Linked DNA regions of Homo sapiens: region 2 is linked to region 1. Evidence: promoter capture Hi-C in 16 types of primary human blood cells and fetal thymus (Javierre and others, 2016). All regions are on one chromosome and are shown on one strand. Each heading gives the region's core, a stretch centred on a gene start or on the middle of the fragment in contact. The rest is flanking DNA. Distances are from core to core; before and after follow the strand shown.

Region 1 (5,569 bases), core at 933-3,432:
TTATCATGAAACATAAAAGATCATTAATAGATATTTTCTAAGAAAAATTTACAGGTTATTTATTACTAATTTTACATTAGAACTATCAATGCCAAATATTCCTTACTAAAGGTAAAAATAGCATTTTATTATTCTTATTTCTATTAACATGCAGGTAATCATCATTTTGTACACATTTACCCCAAAACATTTGGGAAGCTCTACGCTGGAAATTCTTTCAAAGATAGTTTATAAGTTATAGAAAAAAATTAATCTTTATCTATGTTCATATCATATTTATATTTATACGCAAAAAATTAAAAATATAAATGGAACTATGTAATTTACATTTCTTTCTATTTTGATTTTTTTACTTAATAATGCATTGAGAAAATGCTCCGATTTTTAACAGGTACAGCTCAAATCCATTTTCTTTATATCTGAAGACTATTCCACAGTCAGACTGTACCATAATTTATTCAGTCATTCTATAATTGATGAGTATTCTTTTTGTTTCCTGGCTTTGTCTTCATGAACAATGCTTTATTAGGTATCCTTGTGTTTCACGTTTGTATCTGGGTGACAATATTTCTAGAATATATATCCAGAAGTGAGATTGTTAGATCAAAGATATATAAATTACTAATTTTGATAGATGTCAGCTTTGAAAGGCAGTTAAAATTTATGTCAGTTATTTTAGATTGCAACTCTTTTTCACCTTTCTATCATCAGTAGATATTATTTCTCATTTTACTTTTTTGTTTATTTGACAAATGAAAACGATGCGACAATTTAAAAAATATCCTTAATTATTAAGGAGGTTGAACATTGTTTCATATATTTATCGGTTTTTTTTTACATATTTATTAATCATGGTAAACATATCTGTTCATATTTTTCACTCATTTTTTTCATTAGGTTGTCTACTTGTTCCTGCCAAGTTGTAAGAGAGTATATGTGTTGTGGGCCGGGCGCGGTGGCTCACGCCTGTAATCCTAGCACTTTGGGAGGCCGAGGCGGACGGATCATGAGGTCAGGAGATCGAGACCACGGTGAAACCCCGTCTCTACTAAAAATACAAAAAGTTAGCCGGGCGTAGTGGCGGGCGCCTGTAGTCCCAGCTACTCGGGAGGCTGAGGCAGGAGAATGGCGTGAACCCGGGAGGCGGAGCTTGCAGTGAGCCGAGATGGCGCCCCTGCACTCCAGCCTGGGTGACAGAGCGAGACTCCGTCTCAAAAAAAAAAAAAAAAAAAAAAGAGAATATATGTGTTGTGTATATATTTTTATAAGTATTAATGCAAATTATGTTACAGATATTTTTCCAACATGTTTTGTCCTTTCCCATTTTTTATGAATTCTTTTGTCATGCCATAAAAATTAGGTAGCTATGCCTATATTCAATGATTAGCCTAATTCTCTTTCTCATGCAATGGTTTTGGATTTGCATCTTTTTCCATTGCAATGGTCTTCCACATGGTTTTATTGCCTCTGGAGGGTGGTAGAATATGCCACACCAAAATATGCCACTTTGGCAGATGGATTATTTTGAGCTAAAGGTACATAAAGAAACAGCAGATGGAAGAAGGGCATTCTAATTTCACCTCTTCTTCCTCAAAACAAGTGGTTAAAAACTCCCATGTAAAAGATGCCCTCCCTGTACCAGAAGAAATGAAACATTATTTTCATTTTTTAATGAATTCTATCCAAGAGAATTCTATACAAACAACGCTTGTTAAAATAATTCTAATCTTCCTTTTACCTCCCTGCATAATTTAGCTGCTTTTCCACAATTGCTTTTCTTTGTTCAACCTAGTATGAAAGCCTTTAGGTTTTGCCACATGTTCAGGTCTTCATTTACTTATGAGGACTTTTATGTTATGTAAAACTTTTATACATTTGTATGCTTTTCTCTTCTGAATCTGGCTTATGTCCATCTGATTCTCAGGCCAACTAAGAGAGTAGAGGCAAAATTTTGCCTCCCCTACACCTCAAATATATGCATTCATTTCAGTATTTTCCAATTTTAGTGTCAAATACCTAAACACACACTTTGTAAACAGATTTTACTAATGGATGTAAGTTAGACTTTAAAAACTGTTAATTAAATGGGAAACTCAAAGGTATAAATATAATAAAATGCTACCGCTTTGTGTTATCTTTAGTGATTGTCTTTGTAACATGTTTTCTTATTACAGTGACGAGTATGGATATATCAGAGGGAAATAAGACTCTTGTGACAGAGTTTGTTCTCACAGGACTTACAGATCGACCATGGCTGCACGTCCTCTTCTTTGTTGTGTTTTTGGTGGTCTATCTCATCACCATGGTGGGCAACCTTGGACTGATAGTTCTAATTTGGAACGACCCCCATCTTCATATGCCCATGTACTTATTCCTTGGTGGTTTAGCCTTTTCAGATGCTTGTACTTCAACCTCTATAACCCCTAGGATGCTGGTCAATTTCTTAGACAAGACTGCAATGATATCCCTAGCTGAGTGCATCACCCAGTTTTACTTTTTTGCTTCCAGTGCAACTACAGAATGCTTCCTCCTGGTGATGATGGCCTATGACCGCTATGTAGCCATATGTAATCCCTTGCTTTATCCAGTGATGATGTCCAACAAACTCAGCGCTCAGTTGCTAAGTATTTCATATGTAATTGGTTTCCTGCATCCTCTGGTTCATGTGAGTTTACTATTGCGACTAACTTTCTGCAGGTTTAACATAATACATTATTTCTACTGTGAAATTTTACAACTGTTCAAAATTTCATGCAATGGTCCATCTATTAACGCACTAATGATATTTATTTTTGGTGCTTTTATACAAATACCCACTTTAATGACTATCATAATCTCTTATACTCGTGTGCTCTTTGATATTCTGAAAAAAAAGTCTGAAAAGGGCAGAAGCAAAGCCTTCTCCACATGCGGCGCCCATCTGCTTTCTGTCTCATTGTACTACGGAACTCTGATCTTCATGTATGTGCGTCCTGCATCTGGCTTAGCTGAAGACCAAGACAAAGTGTATTCTCTGTTTTACACGATTATAATTCCCCTGCTAAACCCATTTATTTACAGCTTGAGAAATAAAAAAGTCATGCATGCATTGAGAAGAGTTATAAGGAAGTAAACAGTTCCAAAGGGAAATGTCAAATCATTTATTTTTTCACCCTTTGCATAAATAAGTCAACAAGTCTTGTGGTTAGCCATGGCTCTGCCATTTCATCAGAGGGCTAGTGGTCAGGGTGGTCACTGAGCACTACGTGAAGAAACCCAGCTTTGTACAATGTTTACTTGGATTTGGGTCCAGTTGAAGTGTCTTTACATCAACCATGGTTGATTTCTTTAAAAACATTTTACTTCCTTGTTTTCTGAACATTTAATCTTGAAAATTTATTATTTTCCAGGGACCCTACATCTAAATTCCATTGAATAACCGACAATAATTGAAACTGTTATATAAGAGCCATTTAGTTCACAAACCTAGTTTACTGCACTAGGCTCTGTGATACCCTACCATACAAGAATAAAATGATAAAAACTCAGAGTCTTGCAGAAAAAGTGTTCTAGAAATAAAAGTGAGAAATAGTAATAAAAATTAAGAGTTTAAAAAATGGTGTATTTTTTAATTTTTAATTTCTGGTATATCTTAATGACAAAAATTTTTAAAAGCTTGTCTTGAACAATGGACCATCAAAATTTAAAACTTTCCATATCTAAAGTCGATATACTAGCTTTAATATAAGGCATTATATAATACAATTGCATTCAATAATATGCAGGTTAGAAAATATCTCAGGATATAGCCTTCTCAAACAGTACAGATCTTCTATACTCTATTTACAGGAATATTTTGTTTGCAATTATAAGCATGATAAAAAAATTTGCATAGAGATTGCATTGCTATACTCCAAGAGGCAGAAGACAAGGATAAGAAACAGGTCAAATATGTATGGATATTGGTGTAAAATTGAGCTGGTAGATTCTTTTAAAGGTGAGATCAGGTTCTCTTGGTGTCAGCCACCAATTTACTTCCTTTTTTTTTTTTTTTTTTTTTTTGTTTGAGACAGAGTCTCTGTTGTCCAGGCTGGAGTGCAGTGGTGCAGTCTCGACTCACTGCAACCTCTGCCTCTCAGGTTCAAGCTATTCTCCCGCCTCAGCCTACTGAGTAGCTAGAATTACAGGCATATGCCACCAGGCGGGCTAATTTTTGTGTTTTTAATAGAGACAGGATTTCACCACACTGGCCGGGCTGGTCTTGAACTCCTGACCTCAGGTAATCCTGCTGCCTCGGCCTCCCACAACTTACTTCTTTTCAGTGACAGACCTACGTTAATATATGTATCAGCTATTTTAGCAAAATGGAACTGACACATATTTCCTTTTGCAAAGTATGAATCATGTTCTTTGAGCAAGCTGTTTTTTCAAGCATTATATTTAGGAAGAAAGAATTAATAGGAAATGAAAATTAAAATTTAAGTTGTTGCAACAGGAGTGAAACTTGTTAAAGAAAAATTTTAGCTGAATAAAATTTTAAAAAGTTTAATTGAGCAGAGAACAATTTGCCAATTGGGCAGTTTCCCAGCCAGAGTAGGCTCAGAGACTCCACGGCAGCTACATGGTGGAAGATTTGTGGACAGAAAAAGGAAAGTGACATACAGAAAACAAAAATGAGATACAGAAAGAGCCAGATTGGTTACAGCTCCACGTTTTTCTTATTTGAACATGGTTTGAACAGGTGGCCACCTTTAGCCAAAACTCGGTGACTGGTACAAGAGCAGGTTACAGTTTGTTAACAATTCTGTTTAGGTTTGTACAGACAAAGTTTTAGGCATAAAATATATAAGGAGGCAGCCTTAGGCTAAACTTAATTTAACAAAGTGTGCTCTTGTTGAAGAATTTTAAAAGTTATTTTTAGTTAGCTTTTTTGCCTGTAATTCCAACAGATACACCAAAATATTAATCTAATATGTAGACATATTCTATATCTTAAATGTATTGATTATTTGACTTAGGAATATAAATTTAAAATGTTAATTCATTTGTATAGGTGTACAGTTTCATTCCTATGGATCTCCACTAACAAATGGCTTTTTTAAAAACTACACAACTGAATGTACTCCTTTTAAAAATTTTTTTTATTATACTTTAAGTTCTAGGGTACATGTGCACAATGTGCAGGTTTGTTACACAGGTATACATGTGCCATGTTGGTTTGCTGCACTCATCAACTCGTCATTTACATTAGGTATTTTTCCTAATGCTATCCCTCCCCCAGCTCCCTATCCCCCAACAGGCCCTGGTGTGTGATGCTCTCTGCCCTGTGTCCATGTGTTCTCATTGTTCACCTCCCACCTATGAATGAGAACATGTGGTGTTCTGTTTTCTGTCCTTGTGATAGTTTTTGCTTAGAATGATGGTTTCTAGCTTCATTCATATCCCTGCAAAGGACATGAACTCATCATTTTTTATGGCTGCATAGTATTCCATGGTGTATATCTGCCACATTTTCTTAATCCAGTCTATCATTGATGAACATTTGGGTGGGTTCCAAGTCTTTGCTATTGTGAATAGTGCCGCAATAAAC
Region 2 (5,569 bases), core at 1,161-3,660, 210 kb after region 1:
GCCTTGGGTATGACCCAGTGCTGTGCTGGCTTCAGTTCTAACCCAGCACAGCCCCAGTAGTGTATGGCACCCAAACCCCAGCTTCAGGCAGCTCAGCAGAGTGACAGAGACACCATTTGTTTTGGAGAAAGTAAGGGAAGAGAACAAGAGTCTCTACCAGATAACCCCGGGAATTCTTCCAGATCTTATCCAAGACCACCAAGGTTTTACCTCTTTGTGAGAACCACAGTGTTACTTGGCTTGGATTGCCTCCTAATACAGATATGGCTGTAGTGACCAAAAACTTACATTAAAACACCCAAGTTCCTTCAAATACCCATAAAGTCTTCCCAAGAAGGATGGGTACAAATAAGCCCAGACTGCAAAGACAATAATAAATACCAGACATTGAAAGACATCCACAAGCTTCAAGACAATCCAGAAAATCATGACCTACCAAATGAACTAAGTAAGACACCAGGAATCCATCCATGAGAAGCAGAGATATGTGACCTTTCAAACAGTGAATTCAAAATAGCTGCTTTGAGGAAACTCCACGAATTTTGAGATAACACACAAAAAAAGAACTCAGAATCCCGTCAGATAAATTTAACAAAGCGACTGAAATAATTTAAAAGAATCAAGCAGAAATTCTGGAGTTGAAAAATGCAATTGAAATAAATAGAACTGATCAAGCATAAGAAAGTATTAGTGAGCTTGAAGACAGGATATTTGAAAATACACCATCAGAGGAGATGAAAGAAAAAAAAATACAAAAGAATGAAGCATGCCTAAAAGATGTAGAAAATAGCCTTAAAAGAGAAAATCTAAGAGGTATTGGCCTTAAGGAGTAGATAAAAAGAGAGATGGGGTAGAAAGTTTATTCAAAGGGATAATAACAGAGAACTTCTCAAACCTACAGAAAGATATCAATATCCAAGTACAAGAAGGTTATAGAACACCAAATATATTTAACCTAAAGAAGCCTACCTAAAGACATTTAGCAATCAAACTCCCTAAGGTCAAAAATAAAGAAAGAATTCTAAAAGCAGCAAGAGAAAATTAAAAAAAATAACATACAATGGAGCTCCGATATGTCTTGCAAAAGACTTTTCAGTAGAAACCTTACAGGCCAGGAGAGAGTGGCATGACATACTTGAAGTGCTGAAGAAAAAAACTTTTATCTTAGAATAATACAAACAGTGAAGATATCCTTCAAACATGAAGGAGAAATAACGATTTTCCCAGACAAACAAAAGTTGAGGGAGTTCACCAACATCAGACCTGTCCTATAATAAATGCTAAAGGGAGTTCTTCAATCTGACGGAAAAGAACATTAATGAGCAATAAGAAATAATGTGAAGATGCAAGACTCACTGGTAATAGTAAGTACACAGAGAAACAGAACAACACTGTAATTGTGGCATATAAATTACCCACATCTTGAATAGAAAGACTAAATATGAAGTGATCAATAATCAAAACTACAACTTTTCAAGCATAGACAGTACAATAAGATACAGATAGAAACAATAAAAAATTGAAAAGTGGGGAGATAAAGTTAAAGTGAATTGTATTTGTTTATCTTTGTTGATTTGTTTGTTTGCCTATGCAATCAGTGTTAATTTATCATTAGTTTAAAGTAATGGGTTATAAGATAGTATTGGCAAGCTTCATGGCAATCTCAAATCACAAAACCTTCACCAGATACACAAAAAAATAAAAATCAAGAAATTAAAACATGCCACCAAAGAAAAATCACCTTCACTAAATGGAAAACAAGAAGGAAGAAAAGAAGAGAAGACAGAATACCACCAAAAAAACCAGAAAACAAATAACAAAATGGCAAGAGTAAGACCTTACTGATGAACAATAACATGGAATATAAATAGACTAAACTCTCCAATCAAAAGATATATAGTGGCTGAATAGATTTTTTTAAAAAGACCCAATGATTTGTTGCATACAGGAAACACACCTCACCTATAAAGACACACATAGATTGAAAATAATGGGATGGAAAAAGATGTTGCATGCAAATGGAAACAAAAAAAAAGGAGGAATAGCTATACTTATATCAGACAACATAGATTTTAAGGCAAAAAGTATAAAAGGGCACTAAGAAGGTTATGTGATTATAAAGAGGTCAACTCAGCAATAAGATATAATTATTGTAAATATATATGCAGTCAACACTAGAGCACCCAGATATATAAAGCAAATATTACTAGAGCTGAAGAGAGATAGACCCCAATACAATAATAGCTGGAGACTTCAACATCCCACTTTCAGCATTGGACAGGTCTTTCAGACACAAAATCAACAAAGAAACATTAAATGTGATTTGCCCTATAGACCAAATGGACCTAATAGATATTTGCAGAACATTTCATCCAACAGTTGCAGAATACACATTATTCTCCTATGCACATAGATCGCTCTCAAGGATAGACTATATGTTATGGCACAAAACAAGTCTCAAAGAATTAAAAAAAAAAGAAATATCAAGTATCATCTCTTAACATAATGGAATAAAATTAGAAGTCAATAACAAGAGGAACTCTGGAAACTATGCAAGCACATAGAAATTAAACAATATGTACCTGAATGACCAGTAAGTCAATGAAGAAAACTGAAAATTTTCTTGAAACAAACAAAAATGAAAATGCAACATATACCAAAACCTATAGGATGCAGCAAAATTGGTACTAAGAAAGTTTATAGCCATAAGTGTCTACATACAAAAACATAGATAAACTTCAAATAAACAACAGAACAATGCATCCTAAAGAATTAGAAAAGCAAGAGCAAACCAAATCCAAAATTAGTAGAAGGAAATAAACAATAAAAATTAGAGCAGAAATAAATGAAAAAGAAAAAAGGAAAACAATACAAAAATCAAGGAAATGAGAAGTTGGTTTTATAGAAGGATAAACAAAATTGACAAACCATTAGCCAGACTACCTAAGAAAAAAAGACGAAAACCCAAATAAATAAAATCAGAGATAAAAAAGGAGACATTACAATTGATACCACAGAAACGCAAATGATTATTAGGGACTACTATGAGTAACCATATGTAAATAAATTTGAAAATGTAGAAGAAATGGATAAAATCCTAGATGCCACCTCCCCAGATTGAACCATGCAGAAATCCAAAACCTGATCAGACCAATAACAAGTAAGGAGACTGAAGCTTTAATAAGAAGTCTCCAAACAAGGAAAAACCCGTCAGATAAATTTAACAAACAGACTGAAATAATTTAAAAGAATCAGGCAGAAATTCTGGAGCTGAAAGATGCAATTGAAATAATAAAGATTACGTCAGAATCTCTTAATAGCAGAACTGATCGAGCATAAGAAAGTATTAGTGAGCTTGAAGATGGGATATTTGAAAACATACAGTCAATTGGCTTCATTGCTGAATTTTACCAAATATCTAAAGAATAACTTAACATCAATCCTCCTAAAACTATCCCAAAAAATAGAGCTGGGAGGAATACTCATTCTACAAGGCCAGTATTACTTTGCTACCAAAGACATATCAAAAAAAGACTACAGGCCAATATTCCTGATGAGCATTCATGCAAAAATCCACAAAATAGTAGCAAGCCAAATTCAACATCACATTAAAAAAATCATTCATCATGACCAAGTTGGATTTATCCCAGGGATGTAAGGATGGTTTGGCATATGCATATCAATCAGTGTGATACATCATATCAACAGAATAAAAGACAAAACCCATATGATCATTTGAATTGATGCAGAAAAAACATTTGATAAAATTCAATACCCCTTTATGATAAAAACCCTCAAAAAACTGGATATAGAAGAAACATATCTCAACATAATAAAAGCCATAGATGAAAGACCCACAGCTATTATCATACTAAATGGGGAATAATAAAAGCCTTTTTTCTAATATCTGGAAAATGACAGGGATGTCCACTTTTACCACTTTTAGTCAACATGGTACTAGAAGTCTAGCTAGAGCAATCAGACAAGAGAAAGAAATAAAGGGTATCCAAATTGGAAAGGAAGAAGTCAAATTATTCTTGTTTGCAGATGATATGATCTTATATTTGGATGAACCTAAAGACTCTGCCAAAAAACTATGAGAACTCATCAACAAATTCAATAAAGTTGCAGGATACAAAATCAACATACAAAAAATCAGTAGCATTTCTATATACCAACAGTGAACAATCTGAAAAAAAATAAAAAATTAATTCCATTTACAATAGCCACACATAAAATTTTATACCTAGGAATTAACTTCACCAAAAAAGTGAAAGATCTCTGTAATGAAAACTATAAAACACTGATGAAAGAAATTGAAGATGACACCAAAAAATGGAAATATATTCCATGTTCATGGGTTGGAAGAATCAATATTGTTAAAATTGTCTATACTACCTAAAGCAAACTACAGATTCAATGCAATGCCTATCAAAATAGCAATGACATTCTTCACAGGAATAGAAAAAATCAATCCTAACATTTGAATGGAACTAAAAAAGACTCAGAATATACAAAGCTATCCTGAGCAAAAAAGAACAAAACTGGAAGAATCACAGTAACTGACTTCAAATTATACTACAGAGCTATAATAACCAAAACAGCATGGTACTAGCATAAAAATACTCACATAGACCAATGGAACAGAATAGAGAACCCAGAAACAAATTCATACATCTATGTACAATGAGCTCATTTTCAAAAAAGGTGCCAAACACATACATTGAGGAAAGGATAGTCTCTTCAATAAATGGTGCTGGGAAAACTGGATATTCATATGCAGAAATTGAAACTAGACCTCTGTCTCTCACCATATACAAAAGTCAAAATGGACTGAAGACTGAACTAGAATACCTGAAACTATGAAACTACTACAAGAAAACAATGGGCAGCACATTGGACTGGGCAAAGAGTTCTTGAGTAATACCCCAAAAGCAGAGGCAATCAAAGCAAAAATGGATAAACAGAATCATATCAAGTTAGGAAGCTTCTGCACAGCAAACAATCAAAAAAGTGAAGAGACAACCCACAGAATGGGAGAAAATATTTGCAAACTACCCATCTGACAAAGTATTAATTATCAGAATACATAAGAAACCCAAACAACTAATAGGAAAAAAATCTAATAACCTGATTAAAAATCGGCAAAAGATATGATAGACATTTCTCAAAAGAAGACATACAAATCACTAACAGGTATATGAAAAGATGGTCAATATCAATGATCGTCAGAGAAATACAAATCAAAACTACAAGGAGATAACATCTTACTCCAGTTAAAATGGCTTATATCCAAATGATAGGCAATGAGAAATGCTGGTTAGTGTGTGTAGAAAAGGAAACTGCCATATACTGTTATTGGGAATGTAAATTAATACAAGCAGTGTGAGATAGCTTGGAGGTTCCTCAAGAAAATAAAAATAGAACTACCATATGACCCAGCAATCCCACTGCTAGGTATATAGCCAAAAAAAAAAAAAAAAAAAAAAAGGAAAGAAAGAAAAGAAAAGCAGTATATAGAAGAGATATCTGCACTCCCATGTTTATTGCAGCACTATTCACAATAGTC

What was found. Contacts are between HindIII fragments. The CHiCAGO score rates a contact against its expected background, and 5 or more counts as called.
Region 2: a fragment that was not itself captured here is called in contact with the fragment with the promoter of OR5AC2 in region 1 in 1 of 17 cell types (endothelial precursors); the score reaches 5.8 in endothelial precursors.

What each region holds. Positions count from the first base shown.
Region 1 is chr3:98,084,991-98,090,559 of GRCh38, forward strand. It overlaps OR5AC2 (olfactory receptor family 5 subfamily AC member 2), which reads left to right and starts at 2,183. Exons shown (of 1, transcript NM_054106.1): 1 at 2,183-3,112. The coding sequence starts at 2,183. The coding sequence ends at 3,112. The HindIII fragment of the contact is 8,836 bases long and covers 1-3,652 here.
Region 2 is chr3:98,297,577-98,303,145 of GRCh38, forward strand. The region is part of intron 1 of LOC105373999 (a long non-coding RNA gene); the gene reads right to left. Among named protein-coding and RNA genes, the nearest start is that of OR5H2, 18 kb to the left of the region's middle. The HindIII fragment of the contact is 1,525 bases long and covers 1,649-3,173 here.